Regions from separate parts of the Homo sapiens genome. Here regions 2 and 3 are each linked to region 1. Evidence: promoter capture Hi-C in 16 types of primary human blood cells and fetal thymus (Javierre and others, 2016). All regions are on one chromosome and are shown on one strand. The core of a region is centred on a gene start or on the middle of the fragment in contact, and the rest is flanking DNA. Distances in the headings are between cores, read along the strand shown.

What was found. The method cuts DNA at HindIII sites, captures the fragments that hold promoters and counts their contacts. A CHiCAGO score of 5 or more calls a contact.
Region 2: a fragment that was not itself captured here is called in contact with the fragment with the promoter of COL5A2 in region 1 in 1 of 17 cell types (activated CD4 T cells); the score reaches 5.6 in activated CD4 T cells.
Region 3: a contact is called between a fragment that was not itself captured here and the fragment with the promoter of COL5A2 in region 1, in 4 of 17 cell types (total CD8 T cells, naive CD8 T cells, activated CD4 T cells and 1 more). The highest score is 5.8, in total CD8 T cells.

What each region holds. Positions count from the first base shown.
Region 1 is chr2:189,178,165-189,181,244 of GRCh38, reverse strand. COL5A2 (collagen type V alpha 2 chain) reads left to right here and starts at 1,484. Exons shown (of 54, transcript NM_000393.5): 1 at 1,484-1,737. The coding sequence starts at 1,641. The HindIII fragment of the contact is 9,698 bases long and covers 1-2,516 here.
Region 2 is chr2:189,368,523-189,371,602 of GRCh38, reverse strand. It overlaps a transcript of COL5A2 not described here. Among named protein-coding and RNA genes, the nearest start is that of WDR75, 71 kb to the left of the region's middle. The HindIII fragment of the contact is 2,267 bases long and covers 437-2,703 here.
Region 3 is chr2:189,340,416-189,343,495 of GRCh38, reverse strand. It overlaps a transcript of COL5A2 not described here. Among named protein-coding and RNA genes, the nearest start is that of WDR75, 100 kb to the left of the region's middle. The HindIII fragment of the contact is 1,864 bases long and covers 520-2,383 here.

The DNA of each region.
Region 1 (3,080 bases), core at 235-2,734:
GAATATTTATCCAGAGTCTAGTTCCAAAGCTAAAATGCAAAGGTTCTTGGATTTCTTCTATTAAGAACAGTAATAATGTCTTGCTTGCCTAATCTCATTTGATAATTTCTCCTTTCTCCGGGCTTAATGCATCCCTCACATATTTATATGCTCTGGCTTATATATCTTTATTTCTTGTAAATTTAGTTTCTCAACACCTACATATGTTCCTTGAAGGTGATGGGTATGTCTTTTATTTCTTTTATGTCATCCTTTCTGCCCAGTGCTTAGCACAGTGCAAGGCACCTGTTGCCCAATAATTATAAACAATTGACTCACTTGTATTGTATAGAACATCCATCCTGATTCTAGGGAGACTCAAGGTGGCAAATACATTAGATTGTATAGAACTCTCTGAGGTCATTAAGATCTTGGCAAGTGTGAGGGTGGCACAAAAGTTCATCGATAATTTTCCTTAAAATGCATGTTCAACTGGGGCTATCATATTCCCTGCAAAGCTGGCTTAAAGCTAATAATACCACCATCTGCTTTTATGTAGCTCTTTGCAATTTGGAGCTTCATTAATAATACATTACTCATTTTAGTGTCACTAAACCCTGTACACTGGTCAGGGTAAAGCCCTTTTCTCAAATGAGAAAATTGGAGTGCACAGAGATAAAGGACTATATGCACATTTACAAAATTATTGAGTGGCAGAACCACTCACAAAAGGCAGAAGCAAGCCTTTTTTCATCCAAAGGTAGAGTACTTCCCATTCCTCTGCACTGCTTAGTAGACTATTTTTCAACATGGTAAAACTCTCTGGGACAAGAGGAACCTGAAGATGTGGCCCCTTAACAAGAGATGTGGAGAAATTAGGAAAGGACATGCTTTCTTAATTCAAATTACAATGTATCACAAATTCATTTATCCAAAATGGTTTTCTAACCTGGACTTTACCTGGGCAACATTCTAATAATCTCCTTCCAGAGTATGGGAAAAGAAACCGAATCTGAGAAGGGGATAAGAATACTCCCTATTCAGTCAAAAGAAAGGGTTAAAATGTGATTGTTTAAAGATTTAAGGTGGAGAAGAGAGTCTTGAATTATCTAAATGTAAAAAAACTAGGGTAAAAGGCTGGATTTCCTTCGGAATGTCTTTTTCAGCTTATAGGGGAAAAGTTAAAGGGTGTGTGTCTGGGGGGAAGGGTTAGGGAGGGGAAAATAGAACCCTTTTCTTCTAACAGCCTTTCTTAAAAAATAAAAGAAAAGAGAAACAAATGTTTGTTTCTGTTATTAAGCCCCATCTATGCTTAAAAGTTAAATGAAATAGGGAAAGTTCAGGCACAGAGACGCGTGTTCTGATTTGGTTGTTTACCATCAATCAGACCGTTGCTTGGCAGACACTGGATGGTTATGAGCCTGAACAAGCTGAAAAGGGGCAGGAAAAGAAGTGGAGGCAGCATTCTTCCTATTTAAAGCTGCATCGCTTGAAAAAAGTTTTCGCAGACTGTGCTGGAGCTGGTGCTGAAAAAGGGGGTTTGCAGAGGCTGCCCTGGGGCTGGTGCTGAAAGAAGAGCCCACAGCTGACTTCATGGTGCTACAATAACCTCAGAATCTACTTTTCACTCTCAGGAGAACCCACATGTCTAATATTTAGACATGATGGCAAACTGGGCGGAAGCAAGACCTCTCCTCATTCTTATTGTTTTATTAGGGCAATTTGTCTCAATAAAAGCCCAGGAAGAAGACGAGGATGGTGAGTTTGCCATTTGCTTTGCTTGTAGTGTTTATTGCACGGTTTGGGAAATAGGTGGAATGTTAAGCCTCAGGAAGAGCGTGAAGAGGAGGTTCTGGTTTGAAGTTTGAGAAGGGGGCTGACGGATTTGCACCTGGAAAACGACTTGAAAGACAATTGGGATGTTTGTAAATCCGGAGCTTCTAGATCCACCGTTGGAGAGAGTACACTACTAAATTTTTCTGGGAAAGCCTACAATAAGTCCTTTTGGCTGAGTGTGAGAGTGGGACGTTTAAAATAAGAAAAGAGTGAATGCTTAAAACGGAGCACTAAAGGCATTTTAGTTAGAGGAGCTCTGTTCTGTGGGCTGGAGTTTTCAGAGCAAGGAAAAGTCGCGGCAGAAGCTGGGTAGGGTGGAGTCTTTTTGTACTGAACTTCAGCTGCTTCATAAAATTCTTTGTTTAGTAAAACCTCTGCAGCAACTCTGATAGCTTTGATTTTTCTTTGTCTTTGGCTCCTCATTCTTTCCTCTTTAACAATTTAAACTTCTTTTTACCATTTTCATTTGTGAAAATGTGATCACTTTTGCTTACTGGGAGGCAGTCTCGTTTGTTTCTCCATGACAGAGGCTGATAGAAGCCAGATTTCTTAAACAGTGGTATTTTCCCACCCTACTGGCTTGATTAACAGGACAGTGGTGGTTCCCGGTTGGATGGCGGAAGGCAGGAAATCAGCATGTCTTGTATATATCTTATTTGGCATGGAATATTTGCATGGACATTACCCCTTAGACCCAAGCTTTTTTTTTTTTTTTTTTTTAAAGATAAATCTTGCCTGGTGACCACATTTTTTTCCTATGCAATTTTCATATGTTACAGTTGGGTTATATGGTATGGTTAAGCAAAAATGCATAGCTGTTGTAGTATATAAGAAAATATTTAAATTGATTCCTCTATTAAATCTTTAATCTTGAGGGTTGCAATTTCAAATACAGACATGTACTCCTTTAAAATAAGCCACTGTAGATTTTCATCAACTCAACCATGTAACATCAAACTCAAGCTTTTAAAACTTTGGACATTCATTAACCTTTTCTATTACTTTCATATATAGACACATACATACAGGTATATATGTATATATACTATGTATATATCTATATTTTTAGAACAAATATCTGCTTCTGTGTGTTTTTGGTTTCAAAAAGTTTATAAAATTAATCTAGAGATCAGAAGTTCTAAAAAGCTTAAAAAGTGAAAATACGAATTTGTAAATGAATATCCAACAATCTGTCAGGAGTCCCATAGAGGGGGCACTTTCTAAGACTTGGAGCTTTTTATGTTACGTTTTATGTTTTTAAAATA
Region 2 (3,080 bases), core at 321-2,820, 190 kb before region 1:
ACACAGTGTTGCCAAACTCTTTGCTAGGGCATAACATGGGTGACCTTGACTCCAGTTCCCAATAAATTTCTTACTTCCATCTGAGACCTTCTCAGCCTAGCCTCCACTGTCTATATTTCTATCAACACTTGGTCAGAATCACTTAACACTTCTCTAAGAAGTTCCAAACTTCCCTTATCTATCTTTTTCTGAGACCTCAAAACTCTTCCAACTTCTGCCTATTACCCAGTTCCAAAGCCAGTTCCACATTACCATCTTTATAGCAATGCCCCACTTCTTGGTAGAAATTTTCCATGTTAGTCAGTTTTTGCGTTGCTACAAAGGAATACCTGACGGGATAATTTATAAAGAAAAGAAGTTTATTTGGCTGACAGTTCTGTAGGCTTTACAGGAAGCATGGCACTAGCATCTGCTCCTGGTGAGGTCTCAGGAAGCTTACAATCATGGTGGAAGGCAAAGGGGGAGCAGGCACATCTCATAGCAAAAGCAAGAGATGTGGGGAAGGGGGAGGTGCCATGCTCTTTTAAACAAGCAGAACTCACAGGAACTATTCGAGGGAGAACTCACTTATCACCAAGGGGATGGTGTTAAACCATTCATGAGGAATCTGCACCCATGATCCAAACACTTCCCACCAGGCCCCACCTCCAACATTGAGGACTACATTTCAACACGAAATTTGGAGGAGACAAATTTCCATAATGTATCACATCCTGTCAGACTTAGCCTTTTTTTTAGCACATACTAGCTAGCTGTGTCACTTTCCCTTTCCATTAATGTTTCTGTTCCTGTGAGCATTGGTATTTAATAAGTCAGTCAGTCAATTGTATAATTTCAGATACTGAATAAATCCTATAAAGGAAATAAAATACGTTTTGGGCCTATGAAATTATGTATGTGAGTATATGTGTTTATAGAAGAAGATTGTTTATTATCTATGTATGTTGTATGTGTTGTATGTGCATGTTGTATGGGTGTTGAGTATGATTGTATGTGGTTATACATTTTCTGTGTCACGTGTTGTGTGTGGCTTTATGTGTTGAGTGTGATTGTGTGTGTGTGTTTTATTTTAGATAATGTGACAGCCAGAGATGACATCTCTGAAAATGACTTGTTGAAATTATATATCAAAAGTTTATGTTGCTGTTATGACAAGTTTATATAATTCTGTTGACTTTACACTATTAATGTGATGATGAGGAGAGAAATAAAACACATTGAACACCTCTTTTCACACATTATTTTATTCTTATAATGACTCTATGAAATAGATATTTTTATTGTTGTTCTGCAGATGAGGGGAATAGGAACTTGTTCAAGGTTGCCAAGCCATCAAGTGATACTAGAAATTGGATTTGAAATGCATTTCTTAGACTTCATAACTCATTGCTCTTTCAGCTTTACCACACCACCCATTCCTAAAGCCAGAAAAAAGACAATGGAGAGAGAAAAAAGTACAATTAGAGGTAGAGATGAGATGACGGAGAAAATTAAATGCAACAGGGAGTCATTTGGTGTCCATTGTGGCAGCATAACAGACTTGCTGGGAGTATTAATGAGTCAAAAAATGTAAAGCACATAGAACAATGCCTGGCATACAGTATGTGCTATATGCATTAACTTTTGTTATTATTACCTGCCCAATAAATTTATGGGTAAAGCTGATACAGTGTCTTGACACATGAGGTTTATGGTCTTTAATCAATACATGAGGAAGAATTGAGTGCATACTGAAGTTCAGTCGTGTGACCTGCTAGACCTCATCATGCAATCGGAAAACTAACACAAACCAACCAACCATTGTTGGAAAACATAGTCAAAGCAAAACTCATCTTTTGCCCATGAAGCTATTACAAATATATTTGGAATGTTTGTTTTGGAATTATGTAATTTTCTTAGAAATGACTCAAGAGTTTATTTAGTCACATTATCGTAGAATACTGGCTCTCAATTTTATCAGTACAAATGTCCTTCTACTATAATAATCAAAATTCATAGGTAATACACACAAAAGTTAACAATTAATATAAAATTCAGAATATATAGATATTCAAAAAACTTTCAGGAGTTTGAATAATCTCAATGAAAACGAATGTATCAAACTCCCTCAGTTAAAAGATAGAGATTAGCAGATTGAAAAATAAAGCAAAAATGAAATTATCTATATTCTACATACAAAATAGATATCTGAGGCATAGGGATACAGAAAGTTTAAGCATAAAAAGATAAAAAATAATAATCAAATGCAAACTAAAAGAAATTTGGCATAGCTGTATTAATGTCAGACAAAATATACTTTAAGATTGTTGGAGGGTAGTGATATTAATAAAAAAAACTTGACAGTCTTCAAAATTAGGTAAGACTAGTTCAAAACATACATTTATAATATGATTTTTCAGTATTAGTGATACATGCTCTAACTTAAATCTTTGGTAAGTCACAGTAACTTTCTTCTTCCAGTTAGTTACAAATGCTTATATATTTCATGTTTTATTTTATTTGAAGCCATGTTTTGAATTTAATGTGTTGTCTAGACAAAACAAACATTTAGTGTTATTATTTGCTTGTAAGCAGCTGAAGCAGGACACATTCTCATGGCACAAATGAAATCACTTCTGTTTACTGTATTGTAGTAGATAGGTGACCTCTGTTCATTAGTGAGGAAGTAAATTTAGAAGGATGGAACTTCTCAAGAAACAAGCTTTTCCTTTTTTCTTTATGATCACCTGAATAGGCCGAGTTAACTATATAGTACATGGTTCAACTGATTTACTGTGTACCTACAGAATGGGTAGGGTGTAGAAATCCGAATCATTCATTAGGAAAGGAGAAAGTCTTGGCTGTGGCAAAAGAATTAAGGACTTTCCTTTGGTATAAACTCATCCAGTTCCTTTCACCATTTATGTTGTACAAAGACTGCTATTTTGTATCAAGTTATGTTAATACTACAGTTAACTTTATCTAATGAATGCATTCTACTGGTGATTTAATATAGTAGACTTTTAAAAATTATCTTACATTAGAGATGTTGACTTCAGTGTTAGGTAATGCATGAAGGAAAGTATATTAACAGGAATTCA
Region 3 (3,080 bases), core at 202-2,701, 160 kb before region 1:
TTTGGATGTCTGGTCATTTTCATTTAAAAAAGGTTTTGATATAGACAAAAGTATTTTTAAAAACTGTAGAATGTTCTCAAATATAAAATACTAATATCTGATAGTTCAGGATTTCTTACTTCCTAGTGATTTTCACTAAAATTTAAGGTTACTAAGAATAAGAACTGTAGTTAACATATAATTCTGTATATAAAATGTGCCAGAGAATTTCTGTCCTTATGAAAAAAGAATAATTTTGTCTAATTCAGAATTTATCTAAAGGTTGATTCAAATTATGGACTATGGTAAATTTTTGTCCTAAAATAAAATGACTGTTTTTTTTAACACGAGAGAATTTAAGACCAAGCAGAAAATTCAAGCATGTCATACATTGTCTGTGTAAGTCATATGTAGTTTTTCTCCTGTTTCTGTGTATGTCTGTCTTCAGGCACATACAGAGAAAATAGAAAGATGAAAAAGTAAAAACCTGATAGGAAATTGGAGAAATTAGGCTAATTAACATTGCTCATAGTTAAAGCTTCTTAGTCTTGATAAAGGTAAGATAAGAAATATTGTAAAGAAATACATTGGCATTTTGGCAAATCTTTTTTTAAATATAGTTAAGCATGAAGCTAGATTTAGCAGGGAGTCAATTTTCACATAAATGCTTCTGTTGGTTGATTTCACACTGTGTTTGCTATTCTGCATTGGTGGTACTAGCACTAAAGTCCTTACTTGCCAAGTGCCTAAAGTAAATTTCTCAAATACACAAAATGTATAGTGGTATTGGTGGACGTAAAGACATTAATTTGTGTATCAAAAACAACATATTTATTGTGTGTGTGTGTGTGTGTGTGTGTGTGTGTGTGTGTGTGTTTTAGCTCTCTGTAACACTGTAGCCTCTAAGGTAAACTGAATAGAAAAAAATTTGGGGTTGGTTTTTTGTTTGTTTTTGCTTTCATTTTTCATTTATTTGCTATTTGTACTTTTTTGGGTTTATATATATGTATATATACATATATATTATATGCATATATAAATAAATAGAAGCATAAATATATAAGCATATCTATACATATATATGTAAAACCCAAAGGAGAACAGATAGCAAATAAATATATAACAAATAGCAAATAAATAAATATATAAATTATATATATAAAATTATTGGTATTTTTAGTTTCTAACAGAAGGCTTGTATTTGGTTCTATATATATAGTAGTCATTTTGTTTCCTGTGCATTTCTAACAGTTCATCATTTGTTCTATTTATCTAAAATTCCTAAGCTACCTTTGTCAAGTCTCCAAAAAAAAAAAAAAGAGCACACTAGCCATTTAAAACTGAATTGGTTTTGCTTACCTATAATGATCTAGAGAGCTTTAAGAGTTTAAGTTTTCTGGCCAAAATTAAAAGACTTGACTTATTTTTATAAATTCTAAACAGAAATAGTACATTATTTTGTTATTTAAGAAAGTAGCTGAGAATAAAATTGTTTAAATGGTGCTTATTTCAGGTAGTTCAGTTCAATCAATAATTTGAGTTAGTTTCAGATCTTTTTCTTTAGATAATACGGAAAGACTGTGATACGGATACAAAGTTTTAATGTTTAGGAAAGATTGGCCTTGTTCTTAAGGAAATTATATTAACAAATTTCACTCAAATTATTTTAGTTGTGTTTAGTAACATTATTAAAATCAAGTGATACTCACTTTGATTAAGTAGTAATTAAAAATATGAGACTTTCTAGTGATTTTTAATCTCAAGGTTTTTATCACTGTTAGTGTGTGTAGTTGAAAACAAAAACAAAATATGTATAAGTGATGTCCTGGTTTGATGATTCTAGTGGTGAATGTCACCTAATCACTTGTTAGTGCTGCACTAGAAACCAGCCCTGGAAGTGATGATACTCTTTTAAATAGCTGAAAACAAATTATTGTGTGCTTGTTCTTAGTTTGTCCCTGTTTTGTTATATAGTATTTAAGTGGAAGGAGATTATTTATCTTCATACTGAATTTCCAAAACTGATATTTGCTTTTACCATTTTTTTAATGATGGAAAAAATGATAACTGTTGCACATTGATAAGTTTGTCACAGGACTTGTCATATTTTTGATGCTTTTGGTCACAATTGCGTCACTAGAATGCCAGCAATTAGACATATGGAAGTAGTAACCTAACCACTTTAATACAGTGGTTTGAAGTGCAGCAGGTGGCAACTACTAGACACCAAATGACAGTGTTTTAATTTGTGACATGTTAGAGTCATGTTAGTGACTCTACATGTTAGTCACTCTACATGACATCTAGAGTCATGTTAGAATTATGGGACTTTCTGCAGTATTAGTAAACTGAACCACAAATTTCTAGATGTTCTTATATATGTCTGTAAACATTTCATTAAGCTTTGGCTTCTGTTCTTATCTTAAATGCATATACTATACTTGATCATCTATATTGAAGATAGAAACTTATTTTACACCAAAGTAGTCTATCTGCATATTATAGGTAGAGTGCTCGTATATTGTAACTTTATTTTTATATTGTTTTGGAAGTCTTTTTAACTTTGGTTAAATGAATAATTATTATTTTACAATGACCTGTAATTCTGTTTTGATCAAATGTTTTGAGGCTTTAAACGTCTTTGGAAAACATCCTATTAATTAATCCTTGTGCTGCTAAGTTACCAGGTTTTGACTCCTGGGTCTGCAAATGGCACTGACACCTGCTAAACCTTGAACACTGACATCAGTCAAAACCTCAACTTCAGAAACCCAGGAGAGGTGACAATCAAAATGAGCTGCTTTTGTGAGACACAGGGCCAGAAATGAAAACTATTCAATCCCCTTAGGCCCAGGGACTATTGTGGAAAAGGTGGATGTGTGAGATTTTGAGTACTAAAATTAGTTATATATTTTATTTTGTGATGGGTTTATGTGCCCTTATGTAGACCTTAAAAAGAGCTCACCATTCTAGGCCAAGGTTGAAGACACAACGTGGTTTGGGAGCCTAGGGAGCTGGGCCTCCCAGGCCAGAGTGTGGCCTCTTAATGGCAAAGGAGATTCCTTGGAGTTGTAAACAATACTGTAACCTTACTTTTTGTC